Regions from separate parts of the Homo sapiens genome. Here region 1 is linked to region 2. The links are contacts of gene promoters, found by promoter capture Hi-C in human tissues and cell types (Jung and others, 2019). All regions are on one chromosome and are shown on one strand. The core of a region is centred on a gene start or on the middle of the fragment in contact, and the rest is flanking DNA. Distances in the headings are between cores, read along the strand shown.

Region 1 (3,537 bases), core at 682-3,181, 540 kb after region 2:
ATCTCTGCCCCGGAGCCTCTAAGCACCTCTCCCTTCCTGCTTTTCCAAATGCCTCTGCAACACCAGGGTGCTGGGCGCATGGGACTGAGGGCCTCCCTCTGGGCCCCTTCTCACCCTGGGCTACCCCAAGTCTTGGACCCCATGTGGAACATGGTCAGCCTTCTGATGAGTCCAGAAAGCATTTCTCCAACATTTAGTTGTGAGCTTAAGGGAATTAAACTTCTCTTTCTGAAAATAAGCTGCAGATTATCCTGAGAGAGGCCCAAACAGGCAGGAGGCTCTGAATATGGCCGCAAGAGCTCAGGCTGTTACTGCCCCTCCTAGGTGCCAGCCCACACAGGCAGGGTTTTCCGCCCACCACCCCCAGGTCAGCCTGGCCATAGAGGGTCTGGGCTGGGGCTTCTCCCCTTGGGGAGTTCAGGCAGCAGAACTCCTGCAATTGTGCTCTGCTTGGGGTGGAAGGTGTTCAGATAAAAATGCCTGGTGGAGTATCTCGGAACCACAGAACTACCTGTGAACGCTGTGGTTTTAAACCCAGGATAGAGCTGTGGTCTGAAAACAGGGTTTTGGAGACACTCAGTGGGAATAAAGTAAAGCAAGGCTCTCTGTGACTGCATGATACAGAACAAGCTCGGTAGCACGGGCTCACTCAGTGGTCTCAGAATGTCTTCTTCTTCCCCTCACCAGACATGTGCAGACTTGGCCTCTCCTGCAGCCCCCACCAGCCCCTATGGTCTCTTTCCCTACTCGCCCAGGAGCCCCCAGCACATCCCAGGTTCTGCCATATGCACACAGTTCCGTCTGCCCCCAGCTCCCTCTCCCTGTGTCTGCCTGCTTAATATCTATCCCACTAGCCAGGTCTGACTGAGGTTCTCCCTATGCTCTTGATTTAAAAAAAAAAAAAAAGCTTTGGAAACAAATTGGAATTTCAATCCTTGCTTTGCCACTCACTAGCTGGGTGATCTTAACATAGTGGTTGGGAGATCCCCGTTCTGCTAGCTGTGTGGCCTTGGGCAAGTTACCTAACCTCTCTGTGCCTCAGCCTTGCTGGCTATAAAATGGAGATAAGAGCACCCATGCGTTGTACAGGGTATAGTTGTGAGGATTAAATAAAGGTGATAATGGTGCGTGTCTGGCACGTGGTAGGTGTAGGGTAGGTGTTAGCTAACTTAGAGATGGAACGCGGCTCCCCCATCCTACCTCTGGCAGCAGCCCCTCCCACTACAGCATCTCCCACTGGGCAGCTCTGTGGCCCAGCTCACCCTGCTTTGAATTTTTTTTACCTTGGAACCGAATTCATTCTCCAGTTGCTGACCTTTGTTAGTGCATCTCCTGTTTCCATCATGCATTTTCCCTGCACAGAATCTCTCTCCTGATCTCCTGCAGAGTGATTCATCTTATGACTGGACCTGAAGTGCCCTCCCTGACACAAGGCCCCTCACGGTGTGCTCCTGGCTGCCTCCTTGCCGGCCTCAGGGAATTGTTCACCTCCTTAAGCAACTGCCTCTTCAGAAACCCAGGCCTACCTAAGTGCGGTTCCTGCAGCCTGGAGTGCCACCCCCATCCCTTCTCTGCTGGGGAACTCCTATTTATTAGGAGTCGGGCCAAATGTCCTCCTCTTGGAAATCCTTCCCAGCTTCAGGGCTCTGCCCTTTACTCCCACACCCTTGGGTCAATGTTTGCCCTCCCTGGACTGTGACCTCCTCCAGGAATTAGGCTCGGGTCCCCAGAGTCCTACACACAGCAGGGGCTGGGGCACTTCTAAGTTAAGGTCGTAGTTGATGGGTCAGCCTGATTGAGCTGCGTGTGCAGAGGATCTGAACTCCTGCAGACACCACTTCTGCATGAGTCTTGGTTTGCCGCTCTGCAAAATGGCCACACCACCTTCCCCACAGCTGCGGAGGGCTGGGCTCTGGGTGTCCAGCAGCACCGAGCTGACACCCAGGAGGCTCATTAAGTCAGTCAGTCCTCTCACCCCTTCCTGGTCGGCTCAGGCTTCCCACATTCATTTTGGGTGTGGTCAGCTCCAATCTCATTTTTGTTGTTCTTGTTAATCAAAGATATAAAAACCTTCATTATCAACTGGCTTAGAGATCCTAAATCATCCTTTCAAGCGTGAAAAAAAATCTTTCTTATTGGTTGTTAGACATACCAGTGACTCTCTTCGTTGCGATGGTGATTCTTTGACACCCCCTCTTGCAGATTAGAAATGCCTCACACTTTTCTAAGTCTGGCTGCCCCGCCACAAACAAGGACTTCTGGCCCCCAGCAATTCCCAGTCCAAACAGGAAGGAGGGCCTGGCAGTCTCCGGGGGTTGCAGTTGTGGCCTCAGCTGTCAGAAGTGAACCTAACCTTCCTGTGCCAGGACCTGGGTCAAGATTGGAGATGATCCCATATGCACTTCTGTATTCAGCTGTGCGGTCTTCTGACAGAGGCGGTATGTAAAGCCAAAAAGCCCCCTAGCTACTTGTCCAGGACGCCTGCTCCTGGAGTTTCTCCAAGTTAACTCTTGTCAGCAAAGCTACATGAAATTCTGTGGCACCCTGTGGCTCTGCGTCTGTCACTCACTCACACACACGTGCTCTCTCCTGACATACCTCTGGTAACTATGGAGCTAGTCCTCAAGGTGGAATTTTACTCTCATGATAAAGACAGTCTCTTCCCCCTTCTTTTCCATCTTCCTCCCATTCCCATGAGTCCTCCACACAGGTTTGTTCCTTTAAAGGTTTATTTCTGGCAAATAAAAAAAAATAACTTATGTGGTTAGATAAATTAATGTATGTGATTAGATACGACACAGGGCAGAGCTGAACGTTCCTGTTTTCTTCTGGATCTTGAAGGTTGGTGAGAGGCCGCTGAATGAGACCCAGCCTCGTGTTTTGTGGGATGAAGAGATGCAGACAAAGTGACTCAGGTACACTGATGCTCCCTGGAGGGCTGGGAGGTGGGCTCAGAGGAAGAGGCCGAATCCAAACCTTTTTTATTGAAAAGAAATAGCTCTTGTTTGTAGCATTTAAAAGAATCAACCCAAACTCTGCACACACTCATCCGTAGTGACCATAAACATGACATACCAAGCAGAGGCTCAGAAAGATGGAGCAACAGACTGAGGACATTTTCAACATGGTACTTGGGGATACCTTTGGGAAAGATGCCTTCCCCAGCAGAGGCCAGCACTGTGGAGAGATAGGACCAGAGCCACTACTGGCACAGTTGTCAAGATCTTTTGCTTTCTGAACTCTGGGGACCGCTGCCTTTTAGCCTGAGGGGAATGTCTCCAAATTTCTTGGGTTGGTAAGTCTCAGAAGCAGCCAGCCCCTTGGTCAACAGAGGGTACCTTTCCTCCAGGAATCTGAGAATGGAACATGCTGATAGTCTGTGCTGAGATCTTAAGGCCAGCATCCCAGAGGCCTTTCCAGAGCCCAGAACCTCAAAGCTGGGAGAGAAGATTCTGGGGACTATCTGCCAGGGAGGAAACCAAGGCTCCTCGGGGGTCAGCGTGTGAGTTCCCCAGGAGCAGAGACCATGGCTTGCTC
Region 2 (3,512 bases), core at 935-3,434:
TTGGGGTATCATGTTCTAAGCCCCCCAAAAAAGTGCCTGACACACAACGGGTGCTCAGTAAATAATGTAAGTCCCTTTCTTCTGCTGCCACCCCAAAAGAGGGACCCTCTCTCCCAGCTTCCTAGTGAGGATGGAATGATGTATTGAACCAGCATGAGTCCCATCTACTTACCCGTTACTAAGGGGAATTGTGATAAGCTCTTCATGTGTACCCCACTGTGCTGTTCTCCTATTCTCAGTTCATCTCTTTGCATCTCAACTTGGAAGGTAAGAACTTAATCAGGATGCACTGAACAATTGGCAGAAACTCATGTGAATGTAACTATCTTGTCCAGTTCCTTAACCTGTGCTAAGTCCAGGCAGGCACCTGAAGAAAAAAAAAAAAAAGCATGAAGGAGGCTTTTGCCCAAATGGCACTATACTTGGGGGATTCTGAGTAGGGCTGAAACAGCCTTTGCAAAAATTATAACTGAGGAAATTATGGCAGTGACAAAGATCAGACCTAAATGACTCAGTCTTTCTTCTAACTTTCATGCTGTCCTTATTCATTCCTGGGCATAGGCCAAACTAACCTTAGAAAGGAATTCAGTTTATGGTTTGACTCAGAAACAAAATCAATAATAGCCCTTTCCCGAAAAGACCCCCTTCTTGCCTGGGTGCCAGTCTGCCTTTGTACGATTAATCTATTAGTTACAACATTAGAAATTATGGTTTAGGGGTCCTGCGGCGTCAGGCTGCAAGAGTCTGAACCTTCCCAAGTTGCTGCTGGGGATAACATCGCTATTGTAAAATCTAACATCCTATTTTGCAGACCCTGCACTGGATGGATCAGCTGACACCACTCAGACCGTGTGTGATCTGGCTCAACCAGTTCTGCGATCCCACCCAGGAACAGAAGACTGCAAGAAAACGTTACTTCAACCCCCCTGTGATCCCATCTGCAACCTGACCAATCAGCACTCCCCAAGTCCCAAGCCCCTATCTGCCAAATTATCTTTAAAAACTCCCAGAGGCAGGGTGCAGTGGTTCAACGCCTGTAATCCCAGCACTTTAGGTGGATCACGAGATCAAGAGATCAAGACCAGCCTGGCCAACATGGTGAAACCCCGTCTCTACTAAAAATACAAAAATTAGCTGGGTGTGGCGGCGCGTGCCTGTAATCCCAGCTACCCAGGAGGCTGAGGCAGGAGAATCGCTTGAACCCGTGAGGCAGAGGTTGCAGTGAGCCAAGACCATGCCACTGCATTTCAGCCTGGGCGACAGAGGGAGACTCCGTCTGAACAAACAAACAAACAAACAACTCCCGGAATGCTTGGGGAGACTGATTTGAGTACTGGAATCCCAGTACTTTAGGAGGCCAAGGTAGGTGGATCATTTGAGGTCAGGAGTTCCAGACCAGCCTGGCCAACATGGTGAAACCCCGTCTCTACTAAAATTAGAAAAATTAGCCGGGTGTGGTGGTGGGCGCCTGTAATCCCAGCACTTTGGGAAGCCAAGGCAGGTGAATTATCTGAGGTCGGGAGTTTAAGGCCAGCCTTAAACTGGCGAAACCCCGCCTCTACTAAAAATACAAAAATTATCTGGGCATGGTGGCATGTGCCTGTAATCCCAGCTACTCGGGAGGCTGAGGCAGGAGAATCGCTTGAACCCGGGAGGCGGAGGTTGCAGTGAGCCGAGATCACGCTATTGCACTCCGGCCTGGGCAACAGAGCGAGACTCCGTCTCAAACAAACAAACAAAGGAACGAAAACCTCCGGTCTCCGGCACGGCAAGCTCTGCGTGAATTACTTTCTCCATTGCAACTCCCCTGTCTTGATAAATGGGCTCTGTCTAAGCAGCGGGCAAGGTGAACTCGTTGGGCTGTTACAGGACCAGTGACAGACCAAGGGCATGCCACTGAAGGAATCCCTAGACGCACCCTTCTGGATGTGAGACAGGCGGATCTCACCCACGCCTGCCAGCAGCTCCTCGGAGAACTGTGTTCCTGGGTCAGCCCTGGCCCAGAGGAGCGCCGGGGACCCGCAGAGTGCTGCTGAAGTCAAGGCTACAACTCACCTAGGATCTGGGGCGCCAGCCCTCCGGTGGGCAGGGCGTTCTCCTCCCCCACCCCCTCCCCGCACGATGACATCAAGTGTTTGGCGTTGAGTTGCTCCATAAAAGCTGCCCGGGGAAGCCAGGAGAGCGAAGGGCGGACGTACTCGCCACGGCACCCAGGCTGCGCGCACGCGGTCCCGGTGTGCAGCTGGAGAGCGAGCGGCCACCGGGAGCCCCCGGCACAGCCCGCGCCCGCCCCGCAGGAGCCCGCGAAGATGCCCCGGCGCAGCCTGCACGCGGCGGCCGTGCTCCTGCTGGTGATCTTAAAGGAACAGCCTTCCAGCCCGGCCCCAGTGAACGGTAAAGTTTCCGCCTGCTTCTTTCCTAACACTCCTGAGCGCTCAGCCGCCCCTGGGCTGAAGGCTCTTCAATGATAAAGTAAAATCATTGCTGCGGGGAGCAGGGAAGGTGTAGTACCAAATAGTAGATTCTCAAGAAAGGATGCTCCGTTTTCCTTTGCTGAGGTTGGGTCGGGAAGCACGTTGCTTTCTAGTGGCGCTTGGCGCAGATTTGGTGTTAAAATGTTTGCGTGTACTCCCGGGCACCGCCAGCTCTGAAGATGTGGCTTGGGAACTTGCTAACCAGGGAGGAGATGCAAAGCCAAGATTTAAAACAGCGTTCCCCTGATCCACGTTTAGAAAGTAGAGACATGACTGTGGCATTCTGATTGGGGTAAGCACAGAGAAAGGTTTGCTGTGCCCCTGTGCAGAACCCGCAGACAGTGGTAGGCGCTTTTCTTTGGAGGAGAGGATCTTTACCATTAAGTCTTACCTACAAGTCAAAGGGATGATGCATCCCATTCTTAATCATTGTTTTTCTCCAGGAGGGCTCTACTATGCTGAATGTACGTGTGTGTGCACGTACACACACACACGCACGCGCGCACGCACACAAACCACACACACACACACACACACACACACAGCATATTTCTGATTGTAATTAGAACACTAAATCCCAAAAGGCTGGAGGCTGAGGGACTGAATGGAGGCTCCGTGGAGTGACAGGAGGAGGTGGCAGAGGGGACCTGAACTGTGGGCTCACGCCGGGCCAGTGAGCTAACACGTGTACAGCCAAGGCTGGTTCATTAATCTTTTGGAATAAGAAAGTGATTTTGGACCGAAAGTGATTTTACTGGCTGAAACTAGATTCTTCCTGGCGAGGCAGTGGTGGTGGGAAATGTGTCCTGCTCAGCAGCATAAAAGCTCTGAGCCTCCTCTCTTGGAGGTCACAGTGCCCATGGGGAAGGGCAGGGGAGCCAGGCTGTGGATAACTCTTAATTAAATTCCAGTCAACTAGCTGGCATGATGTGCTTGATATTATCTCCCTCATCTGGTCAGGGAGAAACAGAAGCGATGTAACAGAAGTTGGGAGAAAGGAGCGATGTAAAAGTGAAAATCAAGTTTTAAAACCACAAA

What was found. The method cuts DNA at HindIII sites, captures the fragments that hold promoters and counts their contacts. A contact is called where the count stands out against the background at its distance.
Region 1: a contact is called between a fragment that was not itself captured here and the fragment with the promoter of CA12 in region 2, in 1 of the 25 tissues and cell types used here (lymphoblastoid cells).

The regions. Positions count from the first base shown.
Region 1 is chr15:62,843,806-62,847,342 of GRCh38, reverse strand. TLN2 (talin 2) reads right to left here. Exons shown (of 59, transcript NM_015059.3): 59 at 2,712-3,537. LOC105370854 (a long non-coding RNA gene) reads left to right here. Exons shown (of 7, transcript XR_007064671.1): 3 at 2,203-2,438; 4 at 2,842-3,537. Among named protein-coding and RNA genes, the nearest start is that of MIR190A, 22 kb to the right of the region's middle. RefSeq lists enhancers at 1-273, 274-775, 1,457-1,957. The HindIII fragment of the contact is 9,285 bases long and covers 1-3,537 here.
Region 2 is chr15:63,380,518-63,384,029 of GRCh38, reverse strand. It overlaps CA12 (carbonic anhydrase 12), which reads left to right and starts at 2,184. Exons shown (of 11, transcript NM_001218.5): 1 at 2,184-2,394. The coding sequence starts at 2,310. RefSeq lists enhancers at 1,460-1,979, 1,980-2,500. The HindIII fragment of the contact is 12,151 bases long and covers 1-3,512 here.